Linked DNA regions of Homo sapiens: region 2 is linked to region 1. Evidence: promoter capture Hi-C in 16 types of primary human blood cells and fetal thymus (Javierre and others, 2016). All regions are on one chromosome and are shown on one strand. Each heading gives the region's core, a stretch centred on a gene start or on the middle of the fragment in contact. The rest is flanking DNA. Distances are from core to core; before and after follow the strand shown. Region 1 holds the start of DDX25-AS1 (DDX25 antisense RNA 1). Region 2 has its middle 46 kb from the start of RPUSD4.

Region 1 (4,658 bases), core at 279-2,778:
GGGAAGAAGCTGTACATTAACATCTTCCTAATTTTGTAAAAGTTGTGTGAGGTATGCCGGGTGGTGGAAGGGGTGAGATGGAGAAAGGAGAGTGCCTTTGGGGGCAGTTAGAGCAGAGAGGAAGAGATTTCCCTGAGTTTGGGGACAGTTCAGAGGTCACTAGGTACCTGGGAGAAGAAGAGTCTGGAGACAGCAGGCCAGGACCCCAGAGCGTACAGGACTGGAGAGCTATTGCTGACTGCACAGGCCCACAGAAAGCTTGGACAACGAGCAGGCCAACAACCACCACGATGGACCAGCAGTTAGAGGCCTTCCCTTGGTTTCATCCCTCCTAAGTTTCTTAGTCAATTTGTGTGGCTATACTAGAATACCTGAGACTGGGTAATTTATAAAGAACAGAAATTTATTTTCTTACAGTTCTGGAGACTGGGAAGTCCAAGACCGGGGCTCCAGCAGGTCCGGTGTCTGGTGAGAGCTGTTGTCTTCCAAGATGGCGCCTTGTCACTGCATCTTCCAGAGGAGACGAAGGCCATGTCCCCACATAGTGGAAGGCAGAAGGGCAAAAAGGGATAAACTCCCTTTGTCAAGCCCTTTTATAAGGGCAGCTACTCCCATTCACAGGGGAGGAGCCCTCGTGGCCCAACCACCTCTTGGAGACCCCATCTCTTAATACTACCACACTGGCAACACCTGAATTTTGGGGACACATTTAAACCATAGCAATAAGCCCCCGGGTTCTGGTGGGACGCTGGAAAAAGGCAGGAGCCCCAGGAATGAACTCAACTCTACTTGATTTTAGTGAAATAGAGAAATGGATATTTTTGTGCACCTAAGTTTATAGAGTAAGAGTCACACCTACTGCACCACTACGATTATTATTATTAGCGTTGCTGTTGTTGCTGTTTCCCGGGCTGTGACACTAGGCCTCAGTGCATTTGAGTGCTGTCTGATATGAGCAAAGTGCTCAGGACAGCTGCAGTTCCTTCCCCCAGGAAAGACTCCTAGCCCTTCAGTTCCCAGGTTCTTCCTGGGTTCTGCCCCATCTGGCAACAGTGCTGCTACCAGGCCGGGAATGACAATATAGGGACAGTTCTCTGTAGTTGAGGGTCTGGTTGGAGGTCCCTGGTAGGAGTCTGTCTGGACCCAGCACAGGGGATGCCCACCAGGCCAGCCCTAGCCTTCAAGGGTGGGCCAGACTTTTGAGGTCTGTTGGGGAAGCCAGGGCCCAGGGAAACTTCTAGCTGCTCTCTCCATCTTCAGGCTTGTCACCTCCTCTCTATCCCCTCCCAGTGCCCTCCACCCAACCTGGCTAGATTCTCCAAGTTCCCTGGCTGAGGAGCAGGAAGGAGTGGGGAGTTTCCATAATGTCTCTGTAGAGCTCCAGGGTGAGGCTTGGCAACTGGAAATTGTCAGTCGTCTCCTTGGCGACCAGCAGCCAAATAATTCTGGGAATGGAGGAGGGAAGGGAGCTCTCAGCAGGGCGGCCAAGAGAGGCAGCCCTCACTTCCCAGAAAACTTCAATTCCTCATTACCTGTGTCAGCTGGGGTTCAATCAGGAGACAGAAACCACACCAGTTAGTTTGAAAAGAGAATTCAGCATAAGGAACTGATAATGAGGTATGAAGTTGTTAATTAGGTAAGGAGAGGGTAAGGAGAGAGAAGAGTAAGCTTTCATGGGGGTTGCACCTGCAGGAGCAGCTACCACTCCAGGGCTGGAGAACCCTAAGGAAGAGTTTTGAAGGAGGGTTCCAGAGCCTGTGACCCAGACATCTGAGGAGGGGGCTCAACTCAGCGGGAGCTGGGGTCTCCGGGTGTGAAGAAAGGACTCCTGCACCCAGACCTCTGCGGAAGGGGCACCTGCCAGCTGGTGCTGGGGTCTCTCAGGTAGGGATGCAGGGCTGGGGTGGGGTGGATGATGGAGCTGCAAGTGTTGGGAACACTGCAAACTGGATCAGGTGCTGCTCCAGGAGGGGCCTGCTGTTCCTGGGGTGAAGATGTGTTGCTGGGGTGCCCTCACAGGGAACACACAGATGCAAACAGGAAGGAGCCTGTCCACACTTCCTGTCCCGCCTGCAGCCTCCCTCTAGTGACTGGCAAAACAGAAATGGAGTTGGTAGGGTCCAAGCCCAACATCGCAAAACTGGCTGCAGAAGATACAGGTCCAGAGCTGAGAAATAAGAACCTTGTTACCCCATTGCTGGAAGTTCTGGTCTTCCAGCTTTGTCGTTAGTGGTAAGAGCAATGCTGAATGCGTAGTGGGTGCTCACCTAATGTTGTTGTCTGGCCACTGCCTCAGCTGATTCCTGAAAAGGCACATGGACAGGTAAGGGACAGGCCCATCCCTCCCCTTCTTGGCTTTATTCTGGCCTGTTTTGAAGTTACTGACATTCACAGGCTCTGATAGCTGGAAGGAATTTTTTAATGGTAATGATGAAAACAACAGCAGCAAAGAAATATTACAAGTGGCCTAAGGAAAACTATAAAGTTACTGGGATCAAATCGTACATTAAAAGTACAGGACAAGATAAATAGCCCCATAGGGCAGAAATAGAACAAAGTTCAGAAATTTATCCCCGTGCGTATGGATTATAGGGTACAATAAAGGTGGTATTTCAAACCAGTGGATTCAAACTATGGTTTCTTTAATAAATTGTATAGGCACAGTTGACTCTATGTCTGAATGAAAAAAAAAGGTTACGACCTCTACCTCATTAAGTTATTAAAACAAAATTTCAGATCCGAAAGATTTAAATATAACATTTAAAACAGTTTCATGAGGAAAAATATTAGAATATATGATCTAGAGTTTGAAGAGATTTTTCTAAATAAAGTAGAAAATTCAGAAGCTACAGATGAAAAGAGAGACATAAGAAGCTTAAATTTTAGAAAGATAAAATATACCGCTGGGATCATGAGGTCAGGAGTTTGAGACCAGCCTGGCCAACATAGTGAAACCCCATCTCTACTAAAAATACAAAAATTAGCCAGGCATGGTGCCACGTGCCTGTAGTCACGGCTACTCAGGAGGCTGAGGCAGGAGAATTGCTTGAACCCAGGAGGTGGATGTTGCAGTGAGCCAAGATTTCGCCACTGCACTCCAGCCTGGCCAACAGAGCGAGACTTCGTCTCACAAAAAAAAAAAAAAAAAAAAAAAAAAAAAAGATACCGCTGAGTGCAGTGGCTCACACCTGTAATCCCAGCACTTTGGGAGACCAAGGTGAGCAGATCGCTTGAGCTCAGGAGTTCCAGACCAGCCTGGGGAACATGGCGAAACCCCGTCTCTACAAAAAATTCAAAAATTAGCCGGGTATGGTGGCGCATGCCTGTAGTCCCAGCTACTCGGGAGGCTGAGGTAGGAGGATGGCTTGAACCCAGGAGATCAAGGCTGCAGTGAGCTATGATCGCACCACTGCACTCTAGCCTGGGCAACAGAGTGAGATTTTGTCTCAAAAGACAAAAGACAAAAAAAAAAAAAAAAGAAAACAGAAAGATAGAAGATACTATATGTAAAGTCAAAAGACAAACTATAGACTGGAGAAAATATTTCAATATGTACCACCAATAACGAGTTAATATCTGGTACACAAAGATCCTGTCTGTCAATAAGAAAGAGAAATAACCTAGTAGAAAAATAGGCAAAAGATAGAAATAGGTGATTCATGGAAGAGAAAATCCAAATGGATAATACATTTATGGAAAGATGCTGAACCTCACTAATAGTCAAGGAAATGCAAATTTTAGAGATGGGATACTGCTTTTCACTTATCAGAATAGCAAAACTTAATAAGAATGATCATACCTAGGGCTGGAGAAGATGAGGGAGAAACCACTCTTAATCACAGCTGGTGGATATGTGAATTACCCCAGACTTTTGAGAAAGGGACCTGGTAAAATATATGAAAACTAAAAATATACATCTCTTTGAGCTATGTAATTTTTGGAAATTATGCTATGGGGGATAAAAAGCAAGCTTTAATATTTGAGGATATGCATACAAAAATATAGCATTTTTTTGTAGTGGCAAAACCATTAGTATTGATTGAATGATATACATATACCCATGTAATGTAATGTTATACATCTTTTAAAACAATACATTACAGAAGGACAAATGCTCTAGGATTCCACTTAGATGAGATACCTAGAGCAGTCAAAACCACAGAGACAGAAGGTAGAAGGGTGGCTACCAGGAGCTGGAGAGGGAGGGGAAATGGGGAGTTGTTTAATGGATATAGAATTCCAGTTTTGGAAGAGAAGAAGTTCTGGAGAAGGGTCGCACAACAATGTGAATATAGTTAACGCTACCGAACTATATACTTGAAAATGGCTAAGATTGTAAATTTTATGTTATGTGCATTTTACTGATTAAAAAAAAGAGAATAAATTAGAGGGATTTTCACAATGTTTTGTTAGGTGAGAAAAGCAATCTGCACAGAAATCTATGTGGTATTTGTAAAATAAATGACGATAAAGGTAAATAAACGCCTGCTGGGTAATCCAGACCTGCCTGGCCGCGCCCAGAGTCGTCCAACTGCAGAGCACTCTCCAGGCTGGTCCAGGCCTAGGGCTCCGGGCAGGGGCTGGTGTTGAACTAAGCTTACCGGCTTTGCCAGCCCTAGGTGGCAAAGCACCCTTTAAACAGACTTCTGCCCTGGTGT
Region 2 (4,426 bases), core at 1,908-4,407, 230 kb before region 1:
TATGATTGCCAACCCACGGGATTCATGTGGAGGTGTGCAAAGGGCACTGTGGTAGAACAACACTGACAACAGAACATCTTTATTGAATATTTATGTCCCAGGTCTAAGGATTTTACACGTGTTAATTCTCACAATAACCCTATGAGCATAGAGAAGGACCACCTAATTTAGTAGGGAAGTGGGAAGCAAAAAACAGGTACATCTGGGACGGCAGGGCATTTAGGCAGATGGAATGGTGTGTAAAAGGTGTGGAGGCATCTCGTACAAACAGAATTTGGGGATCTACCTGCCTCTTCCTCCAAGTATTTTTCTCTGTCATGGAGGAAAAGCTTCCTGTAAATATCTTGCAGTTGCTAATGCCTGTTGACTGTGAGATGGATTTCAAACGCCTCCAGGGCATTCTTATTCCTTTAAAGACAGTCTCCAGCAAGAGCGTTGCTTTCCCTGATAGGACTGGGGTCATATGAATCCCCCACCCTCACTTTCACCATTTCCCTCTTTCTCGCTCTTTCTCTGCTCCTGTAAATGATCTCAGTAGTGTTTTTACTTTTAGTCCAAGCCTCCTAGGATTTTTCTTTTCTACACTAACCAGCTCATTTCCCAGTGGAATGGATCATTAGAGTCTCTCTCATCTCATCTCTTTGATCCCAGTCATCCTGGGACTGTCCCTAAGCAGGATCCATAACCAAAAGTCTTATCCAGCAAATTCAAGATAAATTATTATCATCATCACCACCATTATCATCATTATCAGCAGCAGCAGCAGTGTCTGCACATGGCCTGTGCTGGACACCACACAGAGTTCAGTGTTCCCTTCTGTCTGACAATCTGATGCCAACCTCAGGATTTACACGGGGTCTAAACCAAAGACTTACATGGCATCCAAATTCTAGCATGGGACTTGCAGGAGGAGGGGAATTGCCAGCGCGATTTGGGTCACAGTGGAGATTTCTGGACAACTGAGAAAAGTGATCCTGGAAAGATACTAAGGTTACGCATAGTGACTTCCAATCTGAAGTCAGACGGCATGAGAATCATGGCACTTCCTGCCTTCACTGATACTTTTCAAGGACTTGACGCTCCTCCTTGAGTTCAAGACCAAGGAAACATGGCCTTCCCCTCTCCTGCACATCCTTTGCCCTAAATCATAGAAAGGGAAGTTCTAAGCCCTGGCCTGCAACAAAGGAGTTAGTGAGCCCCGAATCTGGCCTCAGAGAGGACAGGATGGTGCCTGGTGAGGAAGCAGCTTCCCTTCCGCCTGGTGTCTTGGCTCCATGGAACGATCCTCTCCAGAGCACTTGAGGCCTAGAGTCCTTCTGAATGGAAACAAGAGACTCGTAAATCCCAAAGCCAGACTCCCTTGGAAGCTCCTGGCTCGGCTCTTGCCTCCCGGGCTCCCTGCCATGAGGAGCATCTCCCAGACTGCTCTCCCTCTCCCCCAGCCGACTGCACGCGCTGACTTTTTGCTCTGGTCGGGGGCAGCCTGTGCCCTGCCTGCCCGGAGGCCTCCAGCCTGCTTGGGTTACCATGAATGAGCATGTTTGGGCTGAATGGTAACCCTCAAGTTTTTCTGAAATTTGGGGTCACTGGGTCCTGAGATGCTGACCTAACATTTTGGGGAAGGTTTGATAAACTGGGTTTCGAAGAGGCCCCAGACAGCCGTCCATCCAACCAGTGCGGGTTACGAGACGAGGAAATCCAGGCAAAGTCCAGTTGAAATCAATCTGTTACCTCCCTTCAGCGGAGGCCCCAACACCCAGGCCCATCCGTTCCCTCTGGGGCCCCATCCCAGGGTGTTGATCCCACGCCAGCTCCAGCCAGCTGCCCAGGAGTCTGTCTCCTGCTCTGATGATGGGGCTCCCGCCCCTCCTCTCACTTCTTCCTTTTCCAGTCAACCTTGTCCTTCATCTAGAGGTCATGAGCAGAGACCTCCAGGTGCAGCCCGTGCTGGGCTAAGGGAGTCAATCCCACACTGTCAGGCAGATCTGTCGAGAGAGCTTTAGGGTTTTTAATTAGGAGGGCCAGCTGGGCTCCTTCTTTAGTCCCCTACTCCACCCCCCAGCCTGGCTTGTAACTTGACTTGTTAAGATGGAACCAAGGGAAGGAGGGAAAGGAAGAGAAGGGAGCATGAATTACTAACCTCACTTCCTCCCTGTGTTTTAAAAGTCACCTTGTATCCAGTCTCCTTACTTTTTTTTTTTTTTTTTTTTTTTGCGGGGTCGAAGAGGCGTGACAGGGTCTCATTCTGTCACCCAGGCTGGAGTGCAGTGGCATGGATCATAGCTCATTGCAGCCTCAAACTCCTGGGCTCAAGTGATCCTCCCAAGCAGCTGGGACTACAGGGCATATCTGGCTATTTTGTTCGTTTGTTTGTTTGTAGAGGCCAGGTCTCCCTGTGTTGCCTAGGCTGGTCTCAAACTCCTGGCTCTGAGTGATCCTCCCACCTTGGCCTCCCGAAGTGCTGGGATTACAGGTGTGAGCCACTGTAGCCGACCATTTCTTAATTTATTGAATCCTGGTGTCTTAGGTGTTTAAGCGTCCTCAGGGCTTGCAGGAGAAAGTTTCTGATTAAGGAAATGGATCCGTGGAAGTTGCTGAGGATGGAGTTTCTTTCCCTTGTGTTACAGCTGACCAGTCATGGGGCTAGAGCTGGAACTCAGACATCCCCTCTCCAGGCTTGACTGACAGTAACCAGGTAAAAATAATCTACGGGGCACCAGAAGCCTTGGGGTCTGGTCATGCTCAGGCGCTAACTTGCAGGGTGACCTTGGGCCAGATTTTCCTCCTCTCCAGGTCTCAGTTTTTTCATAGGAGTAGAAAAATTTTTCTGCTTTTGAGGCCATTCCATTTAAGCAACTGCAGGAAAAGGAGTGATTATAGTAGTAGCAATTCAGATCAAAGGTGGAGAGGTCTTAAAAGGATTTGGTGCTGGGCTGGACTATAGTGTTTTGATTTAAATGTGGTAAATGCTAGGAGAGGCTGTTGGCCCTGGAAGGGCTCAGGGCTGATGGAACAAGAGCTGCTGATGAAGAAGATGGCTGTGACGGGGACAAGCACATCGCTGCAGGCCCTTGGTCTATTTTATTTATTTATTTATTTTATTTTTGAGACGGAGTCTTGCTCTGGCACCCAGACTAGAGTGCAGTGGTGCGATCTTGGCTCACTGCAACCTCCATCCCCCAGGATCAAGCAATTCTCCTGCCTCGGCCTCCTGAGTAGCCACACCTGGCTACATTTTGAATTTTCTGTAGAGACAGAGTTCCGCCATGTTGCCCAGACTGGTCTCAAACTCCTGACCTCAGGTGATCTGCCCACCTCGGCCTCCCACAGCATTGGGATTACAGGTGTGAGCCACCGCACCTGGGGCCCTGTGGTCTGTTCTTGAAGATTCATTTCCTCTCTCAGGGCAGTTCAGAGGAAGCTAGAGTTTGAGGGCACAGAGCTCTAGGAAAGGGTTTCCTGATTACCGGGCAAATCTGAGACCCCTCCCTCTGGGGCCTCCCATTCTCTGCCTGGTCTCCCGGTCTGCCTGTTGCTCTCTGTCGCCGGGTACGTCTGCCCCTCTTGGGTCTCACTGTCTCGGGGTCTCACTCTGTCTATGGGAACCTTTGCCTTTGGGACCCAATTACTGGACCCTCTAGGAAAGTTTAATTGAATATTTGTATTGAAAACAGGAGCCAGGGCCCCGAGCCTGATGGGAGGAGACAGGGGGAGAAGAGGGGAGCTGTGTTTGCTTTTCACTCCGGATTAGAGACCTTTATTTGTGCTGAGAGCAGAGATTGGGCCTGGGGATAATGAGTCTGAAGTTTGTTTTCTCCCTCAGGCTGCCCCTCCCTCTGCCTACTCTCTCTGCAGGGAAGGGGTTAGGGCAGAGGGGCCGGGAACTTGTCCGAGCTGCGGTCCGCTGGGCATTCTGTGCCCTGGGGCCCCAGCCTGGGTCTCAGGAGCTGCAGCTGGCCGCAGCTATGCCTGACATAGGCACGGGCTGTGCCGGTTTGCATACGTGCACTTCAAGCCGCGGGTGCTGGGTCATGAGTGCCTCCTGGGAAGACCCTCGGCCAATGCGTGTGCATCTGGGTGTGTGAGAAACGTGCTGTTGTTGAGGACAGTGACTGCTGAGTACATCTGCTGCCAGGAGGCTAAGGCGGTCACATGGGAGTGTGATTCATTGAGGCCTGAAAAGTGCCATCAATCTCACTCTTTCTGGAAGGCATAAGATGCCATTCCTGTGAGCTGCTCCGCGCTCCCCCGCACTCCTCGTGGCAGGGACCTGAAGTTTCTTGGCCGTGCCGCCCCTGGAAAAGTCTGCCAGTGAGCGGGGAATTAGCCAGGCTCCTGCTTCCTCCGAGTGAACACTGTAGCAATCCTGGGGTCCCATGTCTTGCCCATCGCCCTGAGGCCCTGTGCTCGTGATTGCTTTTGATCT

What was found. The method cuts DNA at HindIII sites, captures the fragments that hold promoters and counts their contacts. A CHiCAGO score of 5 or more calls a contact.
Region 2: a contact is called between a fragment that was not itself captured here and the fragment with the promoter of DDX25-AS1 in region 1, in 1 of 17 cell types (non-activated CD4 T cells). The highest score is 5.2, in non-activated CD4 T cells.

What each region holds. Positions count from the first base shown.
Region 1 is chr11:125,935,912-125,940,569 of GRCh38, reverse strand. DDX25-AS1 (DDX25 antisense RNA 1) reads left to right here and starts at 1,528. Exons shown (of 4, transcript NR_199024.1): 1 at 1,528-1,884. The HindIII fragment of the contact is 1,410 bases long and covers 261-1,670 here.
Region 2 is chr11:126,162,967-126,167,392 of GRCh38, reverse strand. No RefSeq gene overlaps it. Among named protein-coding and RNA genes, the nearest start is that of RPUSD4, 46 kb to the left of the region's middle. The HindIII fragment of the contact is 5,651 bases long and covers 332-4,426 here.